Regions from separate parts of the Homo sapiens genome. Here all the other regions are linked to region 3. Evidence: promoter capture Hi-C in 16 types of primary human blood cells and fetal thymus (Javierre and others, 2016). All regions are on one chromosome and are shown on one strand. The core of a region is centred on a gene start or on the middle of the fragment in contact, and the rest is flanking DNA. Distances in the headings are between cores, read along the strand shown.

What was found. The method cuts DNA at HindIII sites, captures the fragments that hold promoters and counts their contacts. A CHiCAGO score of 5 or more calls a contact.
Region 1: the fragment with the promoter of SLIT3 here is called in contact with the fragment with the promoter of SLIT3-AS2 in region 3 in 7 of 17 cell types (M0 macrophages, M2 macrophages, M1 macrophages and 4 more); the score reaches 14.6 in M0 macrophages.
Region 2: a contact is called between a fragment that was not itself captured here and the fragment with the promoter of SLIT3-AS2 in region 3, in 3 of 17 cell types (M1 macrophages, endothelial precursors and M2 macrophages). The highest score is 7.4, in M1 macrophages.
Region 4: a contact is called between a fragment that was not itself captured here and the fragment with the promoter of SLIT3-AS2 in region 3, in 2 of 17 cell types (M0 macrophages and M1 macrophages). The highest score is 5.7, in M0 macrophages.

The regions. Positions count from the first base shown.
Region 1 is chr5:169,299,237-169,302,958 of GRCh38, reverse strand. It overlaps SLIT3 (slit guidance ligand 3), which reads left to right and starts at 1,820. Exons shown (of 36, transcript NM_003062.4): 1 at 1,820-2,446. The coding sequence starts at 2,250. The HindIII fragment of the contact is 7,800 bases long and covers 174-3,722 here.
Region 2 is chr5:169,564,891-169,568,729 of GRCh38, reverse strand. All of the region lies in intron 2 of LOC105377714 (a long non-coding RNA gene), which reads left to right. Among named protein-coding and RNA genes, the nearest start is that of SPDL1, 17 kb to the left of the region's middle. The HindIII fragment of the contact is 2,987 bases long and covers 284-3,270 here.
Region 3 is chr5:168,705,515-168,709,133 of GRCh38, reverse strand. It overlaps SLIT3-AS2 (SLIT3 antisense RNA 2), which reads right to left and starts at 2,207. Exons shown (of 7, transcript NR_130737.1): 1 at 1,867-2,207; 2 at 487-697. SLIT3 (slit guidance ligand 3) reads left to right here. Exons shown (of 36, transcript NM_003062.4): 26 at 1,034-1,158. The HindIII fragment of the contact is 12,206 bases long and covers 1,973-3,619 here.
Region 4 is chr5:169,317,293-169,320,889 of GRCh38, reverse strand. No RefSeq gene overlaps it. Among named protein-coding and RNA genes, the nearest start is that of SLIT3, 18 kb to the right of the region's middle. The HindIII fragment of the contact is 254 bases long and covers 1,181-1,434 here.

The DNA.
Region 1 (3,722 bases), core at 571-3,070, 590 kb before region 3:
CCAGCCCGAAGGGATTGCAAAACATGCTCTAGCATGCATTTGGGAAAACAAAGAAAACCGTACTGTTTTCTGCTCCAGACAGTCTGAGACGCTTTGTGCCCTTGGGCCCTTGCCCGGTTCTCTCATCTGCCTCAGTCCTGGTACTAAATTGGTTCAAGGTTTGGAGGAAAGCTTCAGAGCAAAGGGATAAAAGGATGTTTAGAGTTCTTAAATACCGAAGTCACCCTGAAGACCGGAGCATAGACCCTCGCCAGCCACCAGGGGGCGATAACAACAGCATCTGTACAGAAAGCCGTTCCCAAGAATAACAGCAGTAAATTGCACCTAATGTGTTTATGAATGATGAAGGGACTCGAGTGTGTGTGTTTGAGTGAGTGTGCGTATGTGTGTGTTTGTGTGTACGCGCGCGCAAGTGGGTGCCCAAAGCTAAGACTTTGAAAATCTGCTAAGTATAATACAATAAAATCTACAACTCTACTATATATTCACAGGATGTGGTCAAGTAGTTGAAAGTTTCCTTGAAGGAAAATGAGGTAGAAGAAATCAGAATAGTATTCTTATGAAAGAAAAGAGAAGCGCTCTCAGGAGTATAGTTGTCACTATGTGAGTGTGTGTGCGAGCATGCATGTACACGTGTGTGTGATTGCCGGTGTATAAATGGGTGTGTGTGAGCCTGAGTATGTGAGAGTGTGTGCGTGGCTGTGAATACGTAGGCACCAGTGTGTGTGTATATATATGCAGGGCTCATTCAGGCCTTCTCAGTGTGAGGGGACCTCAAGGAAATCTGGGCAATACTTCCTCCAGTTCCTGCCCTTTCCTTTCAAACAAACAAACAAAATCATTCCTACAAGTATTTATGGAGCCTCTAACGCACACGCCCCTCCCCACTGGCATCTGGAAAAGCTCAGACCTAGCCAATTTAAAGCGGGCGCTGGAAGAAAGAAGGCGCTGGGGACAGAAGGGATGCCTCGTCTGCGAATGACTTTTGCAAAAACACGTTCTCTTCTGTGATGCTCCAAACAACCCAGGGAGGTGAGGCCAGGTAGGACTGTGGCCCCGGATTTGAGAAAACGAAGGCTCAGAGATGACACGATTGGCCCAGAGTCACCCAGTCAGGAAGCAGAAACCCGAGGATGGAACAAGGCATTGTCAATCCAGGGGTCCAAGTCGCTGCCATCACTACTTTTACCAGTCCACCAAGCGCTGGGTCTGGGCAAAGCAGGGCAAGTTTCCGGGTAAGGTTTGCCAGCAGTGACCTCAACAACATGGACCACGGTGTGTGTGTGTGTGTAGCTGTGGAGTACATTGGTGTCAACCAAGGCTCTTCAGGCAAAATTGTGGATCTCTGCCATGAGTACTAGGTGCGGTAGGGAAGCGGCTTCGTGGGCGACACTGCCATGGTTTGGCGTCCCTAGCAGCTGTGCGACCTCCAGCAAGTCGCTTCACTTCTCTGAGCTGTTTTCAGACGACCCCTTGGAAGATCGTGGACTTAAGTAAAGAATATGAGTAGAGTGCTCAGCTCAGTGCAAAAATTAAAAAAAAAAAAGTGTCAGGAGCCTTATCCGTCCTTGGATCTTAACAGTGAATGAGTTTCAGTGTTTCTTTCCAGGGGCCCTGCTGGCCGAGCCCCTTTCCTTCCCTGGTTCCTTCTCTCTCCCTCCTCTACTGCCTCCTCCCTCCAGGCTCTCGGTCGCTCCAGCAAAGTTCCCAACTTAGTCGACATGACGCGCGGCGCAGCCAATGGGAGGCGGAGTTGGCGTTTCTTGGTCGGGGGGGGGCCGGAGGGGTGGGCCCCGCGTCTCCGGTGTCTGCCGTGCTCACTGAATGGAGAGAGCGAGCGCCGGCCAGCTCACCCGGCCGCCCCGTGCCCCAGCCGCAGCCGCCGCGCTCCCCAGCCCAGCCCCAAGCCGGACCTCCCCGGGCGCCACGCCCCATTGCGCTCGCCCCAGGTCCCCAACCCGGCCCGCGGGCCAGCGGGGCCAGGGGGCGCTCCGCACCTGGGCACTCCCAGCGATGCGCAGCGGGGCAGCGCCGGCCCCGCCGATGGAGCTGCTGTTGCTGCCGCCGCCGCCGCCCGGAGCGCCCCGCTCCGCCCGCGCCCCGTGCGCCTGAGCACCGAGCTCGCCCCTCCTCCGCGCTAACTCCGCCGCCCGCTCCCCAGGCCGCCCGCGCTCCCCGCGCGCCTCCTCGGGCTCCACGCGTCTTGCCCCGCAGAGGCAGCCTCCTCCAGGAGCGGGGCCCTGCACACCATGGCCCCCGGGTGGGCAGGGGTCGGCGCCGCCGTGCGCGCCCGCCTGGCGCTGGCCTTGGCGCTGGCGAGCGTCCTGAGTGGGCCTCCAGCCGTCGCCTGCCCCACCAAGTGTACCTGCTCCGCTGCCAGCGTGGACTGCCACGGGCTGGGCCTCCGCGCGGTTCCTCGGGGCATCCCCCGCAACGCTGAGCGCCTGTGAGTACCCCTGCCCCACCCCACGCGGGCCACCCACCTGGGTCCCACCGAGGGGGCCCCAGGCGCCAGATCCGTCCTTTCCCCTCGGCCTCCCTGGATGCAGTCTCTATTCTCATCCCTTCCTGGATACGATCCCTCACTCTCCGAGCTGGGGGTCTGTAGGCTTGGTCAGATCTGGAAAGAGAGGTCTCGAAACCCCCAGCGATGGGCAAAGAGCAGTGCCTCTCCAGGGGTGAGGGTTCCAGACGCAGGGCCCGCTGACAGCTTCCAAGGAGTAGCTGAGGAGAGGCGAGGGGAGGCAAGAGCACTGCAGCCTCAAGGTCTTAGGGTGAGGGTCAGGGGTCTGCGCTCGTTAAAAAGGGGGGCGGGCGAAGGAGAAAGCTATAGGATGATGGGCCGTCAAGGCGCGGAGGCGGGAGAGAGGGCCCGAGACTGTTGACCTGCTTGGAGATCAGAATGGGCCAGCCGCTCTCTGGCTGCCCTTGCAAGGAAAGTTGAGAGTGTGGGTGAAGGTTTAACTTCTGAGGAACTGGACAGATTCAGAGTGGGTGCTCGCAAAACCCGCTCTGCCTGGAGCGCAGTCTGGGAGATGCCAAGTTGCAGCCCCGGGTGAATTTTTTATGGCTCGGTTATAAATGCCTCCCCGAACGAAGGGGCCGGAGAATGGAAATGCTGACAGCCCTTCAAATGAGACCGAGCGTTATAATCTTACAAACCGCACTCAGCCTCAGATCCTGGGCTTGGCAGCGAATGGAGAGGCGCTTGGAGAATGGGGTGGATTGACCCTAGTTTTAGCCCCAATTGTGCAACCAAATATTTACTTTTCATATGTCAACGTTTTGGAAACATTTATCATTTTGATCCTCGGACCAGATTCAAAACTTGGACTCCGGGGTGGGCTCCTCTTAGTCCGCAGTTGGGGTGGGGTAAGGGAGTGGGGGAGAAACGCTGGAGTGGGTGGGAAGCCTTACTGGGAACCCAGCCGAGAAGTGGGTGAGGGTTTGCTCTAGTGTGGTAGATTCCCTCCGTGTCTTGCTCTCCCTCTTCTCCCCTTCCTCATGTGCCTTAGGGGTAGGCGCCTGGATCTTCCACTCTGCTTTCTTGACTTCAGGCTGGAAGAGAGTAGTGATGACAAGCATTGTCCTAGAGTGTGTTATTCCTGCTAGTCACCTCCTATCACCCCACCTCCTCTTCTCTTCCACTTCTTTGTGCATCTCTGGGTGGAGACTCAGCAGAACTGTCTTCCTTATTCCTGGTGCTCTCTTTTTCCTTTGGC
Region 2 (3,839 bases), core at 528-3,027, 860 kb before region 3:
GCAGTGACAGCTAGCTAACATAGTAATGTGTTTTTTAAAATCCCTAACCTGGATCTTTATATATAACGAACATGAAACTTTTAGCTTCCTGTCCAAAGGACTGAACTCACAAGGCATGAGACATTTTATAACCCTGAGGGTGAGTGTCAGTAGCTGGGGTTTGTGTGGAAGTAGTATTCCATGACATTCATTCTAACCAAGAGCCTTCTGTGGCTGAATTATATATTCCAGCTCAAGTTCTAAAGGATACTGATCCTTGGTCTAAGATGATAGTTCCTAAGCTTTACTGGGTTACAGTCTCCTTTGAGAATCTGATGAAATCTATAAGAATTCTTCCCAGAAAAAATAATGTACATGTACACAGCCCCCTTGCTACACACACACACACACACACACACACGCACACACAGATCTCTATCTACCTATAGATTGTGTGTGTGTGTGTGTGTGTGTGTGAGAGAGAGAGAGAGAGAGAGAGAGAGAGAGAGAGAGGCTTGCTTATATCATAGGGTTTATGGACTAGCCAGTGCATGGATACCAGTTAAGAAACTCTACTGGGTGCTGTGGCTCAAGCCTATAATCCCAGCTACTTGGGAGGCTTAGGTGGGAGGATCACTTGAGCCCAGGGGTTCAAGACCAGCCTGGGCAACATAGCAAGACCCCTTTCCTTAAAAGAAAATTTTTTAATTGGCTGGGTGTGGTGGTGCATGCCTGTAGTCCCGGCTACTTAGGAGGCTGAGGCAGGAGGATTGCTTGGGTCCAGGAGTTCAAGGCTGCAGTGAGCTATGATTGTGGCACTGCACTCCATGTACTCCAGCCTGGGCCACAGAGCAAGACCGTCTCTTAAAAAAAAAAGGAGAAGAAGAGAGGGAGGAGGATGAAGAAAGCAGAAGAAGATGAAGAGGAAGAAGGAGAAGGAAGAGGAAGTAGGAGGAGGAGAAGAAGAAAGAGGAAAGAAGAAGAAAGAAGGAAGAAGTAGGAGGAGGAGAAGAAGAAGGGAAGAAGAAGAAACAAGGAAGTAGAAGAGGAAGAGGAGGAGGAGAGGGAGTGGGAGGAGGAGGGGAGGAAAGGGAAGGAGAAGGAGGAGAATAAACTCTGGTCTTACTTGAGCAGACCTCTACTTGTATACCCAAAATTGCATACTCAACTCTAACTGCCAAATAATCTGTTTGCCAGATATTTATTTCCATTGCTGTTGCTGTTGCAGCTACTTCTGAAAGAGGAGTAACTGTTGGTATGGGTTTCTGGCTGCATTTTAGGTTTAGGGTCTAAAACCTCCTTGAGCAGTGCTTGGTTTAACCAGATTTGGTTCAGGGTCTTTTGAAGCTCTGGGTTCATTCTTCCACCTCCCACCCCTTGACCTTCATTTAACCCAAGCATTGAGCAATATAATGCTCAGGAAGTTAGTTGGCAGCTGCCAGCAGGACCTCCGCAGCTGTACCTTACCATGCTACTGGCGCTGTCCAATGTGCTGGATCCTTCCACCATGTCTTGGCCTGTGTGCTTCTTGAAGATTTCAGTTGATAATTTATTGGCATAGGTAGGCTGTAAATATTGCCTTGGTTCATATTTTATCACTGCTTGATTGCTGTCTAGGCTCTTTATTTACCACACATTAGTTTGTTCATGGTCCTATTGATGGAGAAGGCTAGCCCTTTGGCCACTGAGTCTATACCTTGCTAATACCCCATAGGGCCAGAGGTCTCCAGGAATAGGTGAAGGTGGAAGGAAGCAAGAATATGTTGAGGACAAGAGAGGCAGCCCCAAACTCAGGTGAACTGAGAAGTTGGAATGCCTCTAAGATTGATATTAAAGTAACTTTATTGTTCAAAAAAAGAGACAAATGAAAGTCATAGATTATTAATAAACCTACAGTAGTACCCACCCCACATCACTGTCTTTCCTCTTACTTTGCTTTAGTCTTTGTAATAGCACTTACCACCTTGCATAACAATGCATGTTTTTGTTGTTGTTTGACTTCCTTCATTATAATGTAAGCCCTATTAGACCATGGGCTTAATTCACTGTTCCATCTCCAGAACAGTGGCTGGCACATTGTAGGTGCTCAGTAATTATTTTAATTACTCTTTGAACAAATGGATGAACAATCGAATGAACTGAAGGTACTAAATGGGTATTTTCCAAAGTTTTTTTTTCAAAATTTGTGCATGTAAGAATCTCCTAGAAAGGGCCTTTACAAGATGGAGCTATCTGGGATATATCTTTAAAGACTCATCTTTAGTGTCTGGAGGATTAAATTCCAGAATTGGATATTTAAGCTCTTTGAGTGATGCTGAGGCAAGTGGTCCTAGGAAAGTTGAAAAGTTGACTTATGTGATTCATACCCCCACAAAGATGCATACCAGGAATACTTAGCAAAACAGTAGTCTCATTTTTTCTCCTTGACAATTCAGGGCATGTCAAAATAATAAGTCGAATATAATCAAAATAAAAAATGATCAAATAGATAACTCAGTAACTCATTCTCATTTAAAATAGCTTTCTTCTGTTTTTTTTCCCCACATCTTTTTACTATTCCCTTTTCATAGACTTTTCTAAACAGATGCACATCTCACAAAGGCTGAAAATTCCTCTTAACCAGCTATTTCTTTCAAACTGAGAAAAATTTGGTAGCAGTCATTGAGAATGCAAAAAGAAATGTTTGGAATATTGTCAGACTCCCTTTTGCTGTTGGACTCTTTAATTTAAAGGGCATATAAGTCACCTGACCCCTACAACAAAAAATCCATTAAGCCTCTAAGGACACAATCAAATGATTCATTAAAAATATGAATGATTGGCTGGGTGCAGTGGCTCACGTGTGTAATCCCAGCACTTTGGGAAGTTGAGGCGGGTGGATCACCTGAGGTCAGGAGTTCGAGACCAGCCTGGCCAACATGGTGAAACCCCGTCTCTACTAAAAATACAAAAAAATTAGCCAGGCGTGGTGGTGCATGCCTGTAATCCCAGCTACTCAGGAGGCTGAGGCAGGAGAATCACTTGAATCCGGGAGGCGGAAGTTGCAGTGAGCCGAGACCACACCGTTGCACTCCAGCCTGGGCCACAAGAACCAAACTCCATCTCAATGTATATATGAATGATTAAAAAACACTTAGAAAATTTTAAACCTTTTTACATATTAAAGAAACGTGAATTAAAAGAGTAATGAGAATTCTCACTGCTGGTTTGGCAAAAATTAATGTCTAGAATGGGAAAATAGACCTTCCTTTACCCAAAAACAGGCAATTCCTACATGGCTTTGAACAAGCTTTCTAAAGAGCAGCTTGAAATTAATTGTCAAAATTTAAAGTGTGGATATCCTTTGGCCCAACAATTATATTTGAGGGAATGTATCCTTAGGACATTATTTGACAAGATGTATTTTCAAGGATATTAATGGATGGGCCATTTATCAAATCAAATATTTTAAGATAATTTGAATATCTACCAATTCAAGATTAATAAAATTAGTTGACATATTTCCATACAATAAAACTGGCTGACATTTATAGAGCTCTATTATTTGCCTGTCACTCTACTAAGTGCATTACAAGGATTAACTAGCTTAATTTGCACAACAATCCTGTACATAGATAGTATTATTATCTCATCTTAAATATGACAAAATTGAACCACAAAGAAGTTATGCAGCTGATAAGTGGTCACGTTAGGGGTGACACCCAGATGGTCTGGGGTGATCTGTGTTCTTAACAATGATACTTCATAATGGGATATAACACAGCAACCATATGCAGAGGGAACGAGGATATATTCGGTAGATGAAAGCAGATTTCAGAAGAACTTAGCATAGTTACGGAAAGAACAGAGTGGAGAAAGGA
Region 3 (3,619 bases), core at 958-3,457:
GAGTGAGACTCCATCTCAAAAAAAAAAAAAAACAAACAGAAAACAACACTGTAGCTGGTAGTGTAAGGCAGCTAAGTCATCTGGGTTTTGTCTGGGCCATTCTTGGTTTTAGCACTGAAAGCTCTGTGTCCTGCAAACCCCCTCAGCCCCAAGCAAACCAAGACAGATAGTCTTCCTCTTCTAATGTGAAGTCGGGTTGAGCCCCTGGTACCAGCTCTCAATCAGGCCATTCTTTTTACTCATCCACAAACAGTCACTCACTGAAGTTCATCTCAGCCCATCTCCAAGTTGATAACTGTTAACCCCAAGGTCATTTATAGTCCTGACACTAAATATGGCCTGTTTATCCAGGGCTCATTGTCAAAGCTGGCTGCAGCAGCAGGACACAGCCCCCTTTGCAAAGCTCTGGGAAGGACCCTGACCTCCCTCCAGTGCTCGCAGCTAAAGCAAGCACACGGCTGAAACGGTCACAGACGTAACATGTACCTGAGCAGTTTTCTGTCCATTGTCAGCATCATCGCTGTGTCCTCTGGGGCCATCCATTTCTTTCTTCCAAGGTTTTCCAGGGGGGACTTCCTCTGTGTGCCTTTGGCCCAAGCACTGTGCCCTGCTTAGCCTGGCACAGACTATTCCATGGGGAGGGGTGTTTGTGGGTAGAAAAATGGGAGGTCCGAATGGAGCCTGGGCCCAGAGCTTCCTGGAATATGAAAAGATACACAGGGGGTTTCTAATTATGGTGCATTGTTTGCAGATTAGCACCAAAATCGGATCAGGCTAATTACAGTAATTGATTTGACTGCAGAAGTGTTTCTGAATGATGTCCCACTGTGATTTTTCCTCACTGGACAGTGGCTGAATTAATGGGACTCTAGCTGGACTGGATGTGCTGGCTGAGGAGAGCCAGCTGCCATCTGGGCATGGAGTTGGGAAGGGGCTGGCGCTGGCTGAGGGAGGGCCCAGAGCAGAGGGGAAGGGAGGTATGGCAGTGAGCGCACTCAGGACCTGCCATCAGTACTCTGGTTTTGCTGCCCAGGGCCAGTGGACATCAACATTGTGGCCAAATGCAATGCCTGCCTCTCCAGCCCGTGCAAGAATAACGGGACATGCACCCAGGACCCTGTGGAGCTGTACCGCTGTGCCTGCCCCTACAGCTACAAGGTATGCTGGAGGCCCTGCCCCCCCGTGTTCATGCCTCAGGCTCCTCCTTCAGCCCTGGCCCTAGAGAGGGGCACCATGCCCTGCGTACCCTCCCTTCTCCAAGGGACAGCCTGGATGAGTCCATCGCACAGGTCACCACTCCAAAGCAGCATTTGCCAGTAACACTGTTCTCTGAACTAGCGGGAGCTGCCAGTCAGAGAGGCCCCCATATGGTCTTGACAAGGATGTCCAGAGAGAAAGAGGAAATGTAACATTTGTATTTTCTTTGTGAAACATGGAGAAATTAAGTCTCAGAGAAAAAGTGTTTCCAAGTAGAGGCATCCCTTGAGCCCACTCTCCCAATTTCCCTTCTAAAGGGATTTCCAGAACCTCCACCCCACCATGCCCCTGCCAAACCCCACCCTCAGAGCAACCAGCCTTGAAAGTGCTGGTTCCAGCTTGATGTAAATATAGGGATTGGGGATTGAAAGGCCTAGGGGCTGCAAACTCACCCAAAAGGTTGATCGGCTAAGATCAGCCAGCAAGAGGATGAGATCCCAGTTCTCCCCTCTGTCCTCCCAGACTACCTCCAAGACAGTCCTTCCTTCTTTCACCCAGAGCACGGTGTCATGCCCCTCTGCTGACCCCTGTGGATATCGACCATGTGCCTCTCACCAGCACCTACCGAGTACAGACTGTGCCAAGTACTGTGCTTGGCATTTTACTCACCTGTTCAAACACCCCCAGCAAACCTAAGAAGGCCTCATTATTCCCTTTTTACGGATATGGAGACTGGGCCTCAGACTGTCAAGAGTTCAACTCAATGTCCGAAGCTTGTAAGCAGTAGAGCTGTGATTAAGACCCTGGGCTTTGTGATTCCAGAACCCAATCCTTTTCCCCTGGAGGGTTTCCTGGATAGCTGAGCCCTTCCTTGGGCTTCACTGGAATCAGCAAAGCTGTGGCTCCATCCTCTTCTGCAGGGCCCGCCCAGCTTCCAGCCTTCCCAGGGCACCCATCCAAAGGCACTGGGCAAGCGCAGAGTTTCAGGACAGCCCCACAGCCTGTCTAATGCACACATCTGATGCAGGTGGAGTGAGAGTGAGCTGGCATCCCCAGGTCTCTGCCCCCAGTGGGATTGTGTGTGCGTAGTGACAGGCTTAGAGGCAGCCTCATTCTGGGGAATGGGACTACCTGATGTATTTCTAGACGATGGCTGTGCTTCTAGCAGATGGTGTCAGAGTGCCACCTATGGGCCTGGGACAAGAGAGCCAAAGGATTCCCTTTGAAGCCAGCCACCTCCAAAGTCTTAAACTTACCACTGAGTCCCAGACCCATACACCGTCATTTCATAAGCTGATTATAAAAATCAGAGAAGAGACTAAATGCATAAGGTCCAGATGAGTGCCTGGCCTTTACTGATGATTCAAAAGAGAACTATACTATGTATGGAATTGAGAATGTTATAAATTCAGTCACAGGGCACCCACACACACAAAAAAAATAATAGGAGGGGAGAATAGAGATTAACAGCAGACATACTCAGGATGTGTGGATCCTCTCAAACTCCCTTGTATGGATTCAGCAGAGAAAATTCAGACTGTGCAATTACACAGAGAAGCAGGTGTGGATTCCAGCTTTGTCATTTACTAGCTGTGTAGCCATTGCTAGTAATTTCATCTGTCTTCCCAGCTGCAAACTAGGACCTGTCTCATAGGTTTGCCGTAAGAATCAAATGTACAGTAATGTACGCAATACACTAGGATGATACCTGGCATTCAGTGAGCACTCAATAAGCTGGCATACTGCTGCCTTTCACCTTTACCCTTGCATGGTGGTCCCTCATACCTGGGTGTGGAATAGGCCATCAGTAACAGGTGGTATGTTGCTAGTTTGATCCAGGATTATCAGTCTATGGCACTGTGAACTGCCAAGAAACTTCAGTCATTCTCCTAGAACTGTGACTGCATTTGTAACATTCTCAATTCCATACATAGTATAGTTCTCTTTTGAATCATCAATAAAGGCCAGGCACTCATCTGGAGCTTATGCATTTATTTTCTTCTCTGATTTTTATAATCAGCTTATGAGATGGGTAGTATCATCCCCATTCTAAAGATAAGGTAAACTGTTTCACATTCTGATTCTTGCTTCCTTCTCTTTAAAACTGGCCTGAGTCTGAAAGTAGTAGAGCTGGGTTTGAAGTCCAGGCTTCTTCCAGCTACACTTGACTGTACTATGAAGCATGACCTGACCGTCAGTGTCAGAGCAAAGAGAGTATCTTCAGAGCTACTGCAGGATAAGGCCACTTGTTTGAACTTTGTTCTCAAGATTCTGAACATCATGTCAATTTTAGAAGAATGTGAACAGAGATTTTGATCTTGAGGAAAGTGTTGAGCCCAGGCAGGTCTAGGGTGCATGATGTTGATGGTGATGGTGAAGATGATGATGGTGAAGGTGATGATGGTGATGGTATCGGTGATGA
Region 4 (3,597 bases), core at 58-2,557, 610 kb before region 3:
AAGGATCATTTTTAAGAAAATAATAATAGTGGCTACAATTTTTAAAATGAGAAAACTGAGGTTTAGGTGAGTTTTGTTTGCTTTTGTAAGGTTGATTGAAATATTTACAGATGGGAAAATGTGTCCTTTTTAAGAGTATACTGTGATGAGTTTTGAAAAGTGTATACAGTTGTGTAATTAAAATCATAACTAAGCTATAGAACATTTCCATCACGCAAATGTCCTTATGTCTTTTTATAGCCTATTATCTCTCCTCTCCACCACTCTCTAGCAAGCAAAAATCTAGTTTTGGGTCTGCTTTTTGCCTTTTCAGAATGCAATATAAATGTAAGAGAATTTGTAACTTTTGTGCCTTCTTTCACTAACAGAATGTTTTTCAGATTCATCTATGTTGTTGCCTGTATCAATGCTTTATGTTTACTGCTAAGTTATGTTCCATTAAATTCATGTACCACAAATTGGCTGTCCACTCACCAACTGATGACCATTTGAGTTGTTTCTTTTTTTTTTGAGAAGGAATCTCTCCCTGTCGCCTAGGCTGGAGTGCAATGGCATGATCTTGGCTCATGCAATTTCTGCCTCCCATTTTCAAAAGATTCTCCTGCCTCAGCCTCCTGAGTAGCTGGGTTTACAGGCACCTGCCACCATGCCCAGCTAATTTGTGTATTTTTAGTAGAGACGGGGATTCTCCATGTTAGCCAGGCTGGTCCTGGTCTTGAACTCCTGACCTCGTGATCCGCCTGCCTCGGCCTCCCAAAGTGCTGGGATTACAGGTGTGAGCCACCGCGCCCAGCCTGAGTTTTTCTATCATTTAATTATTATAAATAAAACTTCCATAAGCAGCTCTATTCAGGTCTTCTGTGGACATACGGTTTTGATTTTTCATGGTTAAAATATTAGGAGTGGGGTTTCTGGGTCATATAGTAGCTGAATGCATAACTTTACTAGAAACTGCCAAAGATGTTATCACTTTGCATTCCCATCAGTAATGTGTAGGAAGTTTCCAGTTGCTCTACATCTTCAACAGCACTTTTAAAATTTTAGCCATTCTAAAGGGTATGTGGTGGTATCTCATTGTAGTTTTAATTTGCATTTCCCTGATGATTAATGATGTTTAATTTCTTTTTATGTGTTTATTTGCCATCTATATTTCTTCTTTGATGAAGTGTCTATTCAAGCTTTTACCCATTCTTTTTATTGAGTTGCTTGTCTTACTGATTTTTGAGAGTTCTTTATATGTTATGGACACAAACCCCTTGTCAGATAAATGTTTTGCAAATATTTTCTCTTGGACTGTAATTTGTCTTCTTATTTTTGTAATATCTTTCAAAGAACAGATGTTTTAAATTTTGATTAACTCCAGTTTATTATTTTCTTCTGCTTTGATTTGTGCTTTCTGTATCTTATTTTTAAAATCTTTGCCTAACTCAAGCTTGAAAAGATTTTCTGTGTCTTCTTCTAGAAGTTTTTATACATTTAGCACATATATATATACCATTTCAAGTGAATGTTTGCATATGGTGCAGAAAAAAAGGGCCAAGGTTAGTTCTTCAGCCTATAGATAGCTAATTGTTCCAGCATCCACTGCCGAAAAGATTTGTATTCCTTAAACTACATTGGCATTTTGGTTGGAATGGAACATATATATATGTGTTTATTTCTGAACTCTTGATTCTATTCTTTTACTTTTTAAAATTTTTTATCATTTTTAAAAATGAAATTTATCATATATATTTTAGGTGTATAACGTGATGTTATGGGATGCATACAGATAGTAAAATGGTTACTCTAGTGAAGCAAATTAATAATTCATCATCTCACATAGTTACCCTTTTTTGTTGTTATTTTTGGGGCAATACAGTTAAAATCTACTCATTTGGCAGGAATCCCACATATAGCACAATTTTATTTTATTACCTATAGTTTTCATGTTGGATATAAATCTCTAGACTTGTTCAACTTACATATCTACTACTTTGCATTCTCTGACCTACTTCTTCCTGCTTCCTCCCTCCAACCCTGCCCCTAGTAACAACTGTCTTATCTCTGTATATTTGACTCTTTTCTTTTATTTTTCAGATTCCACATATGAGTGAGATCATGCAGGATTTTTCTTTCTGTGTCTGGCTTATTTCACTTAGCGTTATATCTTTCAGATTCATCCTTGTTGTGGCAAATGGCAAGATCTCCTTATCTAAGGCTGAGTAATATTCCATGGTGTCTATATATACCACATTTTTTTAATCCATTCATTGATGAACACTTGGGTTGTTTCCACATTTTGACTGTTTGAATAATGCGCAATGAACATGGGAGTGCAGGTATCTTTATGAGATGGTGATTTCATTTGCTTTGGGGATATGCCCAGAAGAGGAATTACTAGGTTATGTGGTGGTTATATTTTTAATTTCTGTAGAAGTCTCTTTACTGTTTTCCATAATAGCTGTACCACTCAACAGTCCCACCAAAAGTGTACAAGGGTTCCCTTTTCTCCACATTTTCTTGCCAGTATTTGTTATCATTTGACTTTTTGATAATAGCCATCCTAATGGGTGTCAGGTGGTACCTTACAGGGTTTTCATTTGCATTTTCTTGAAGATTAATAATATTGATCACTTTTTTTATATCCATGTTAACCATTTTTATGTCTTCTCTGGAAAAATGTCTGTTCAGGTCCTTTGCCTATTTTTAATTGGATTATTTGTTTTTCTACTATTGAGTTGTATATGTTCTTTATAAATTTTAAATATTAACCCATTACCAGATACATAGTTTGTAAATACTTTTCCCAATCTGTAGGCTGCTGTTATATTGGCTTTATTCTCTCAATCTCTGTGTCTCTCTTTTACCCAATACCACACTCTCTTGATTACTATAGCTTTATGATAAGTCTTAAAACCAGGTAATGTGAATCCTCTAACTCTGTTCTTCTTATTCACAATTACCTATTTTAGTTCTTTTGGGTCTTTTGTTCTTCTATATAAATTTTAGAATACTCTGTCAATCTCCAAAAAGAAATATTATGTTGGGATATTGATTGGAATGGCATTGAACATATAGAGCAATTTGAGAAAACTGACATCTTAACAACATAGAGTCTTCCAATCCATGAGCACAGTTACATCAATCATTTTATAAGCTCATTTTAGTTTCATCAAAATTTTGTCATATTCAGCATCAAATCTTGCACATATTTAGTTTTCCCCTAAATATTTCATGTCCTTTAATGCTATTGTAAATGATACTGTTTTGTAATTTCGATTTCCAGTTATTCACTCCCAATATCTAAGACGGCAATTTATTTTCATACATTGACCGTATCTTCTTATATACGACAACTTTACTAAACTCAATTAGTAGAATCTTTTCAAAAAGTTTTATTTGGATAATTTTAATGAGCACAAGAGCCGTTTTGTTACATGGAGATATTGTATAGTGGTGAAGTCTGGGCTTATAGTATAACCATTACTTGAACAATGTACCCATTAATATCTCATCCCTCTTCCTGCTTGCACCCTGGACCCTTCCGAGTCTCCAGTGCCTACTATTTCATACTCTATGTCCACATGTACTCATTATTTAGCTTCCACCTGTAAG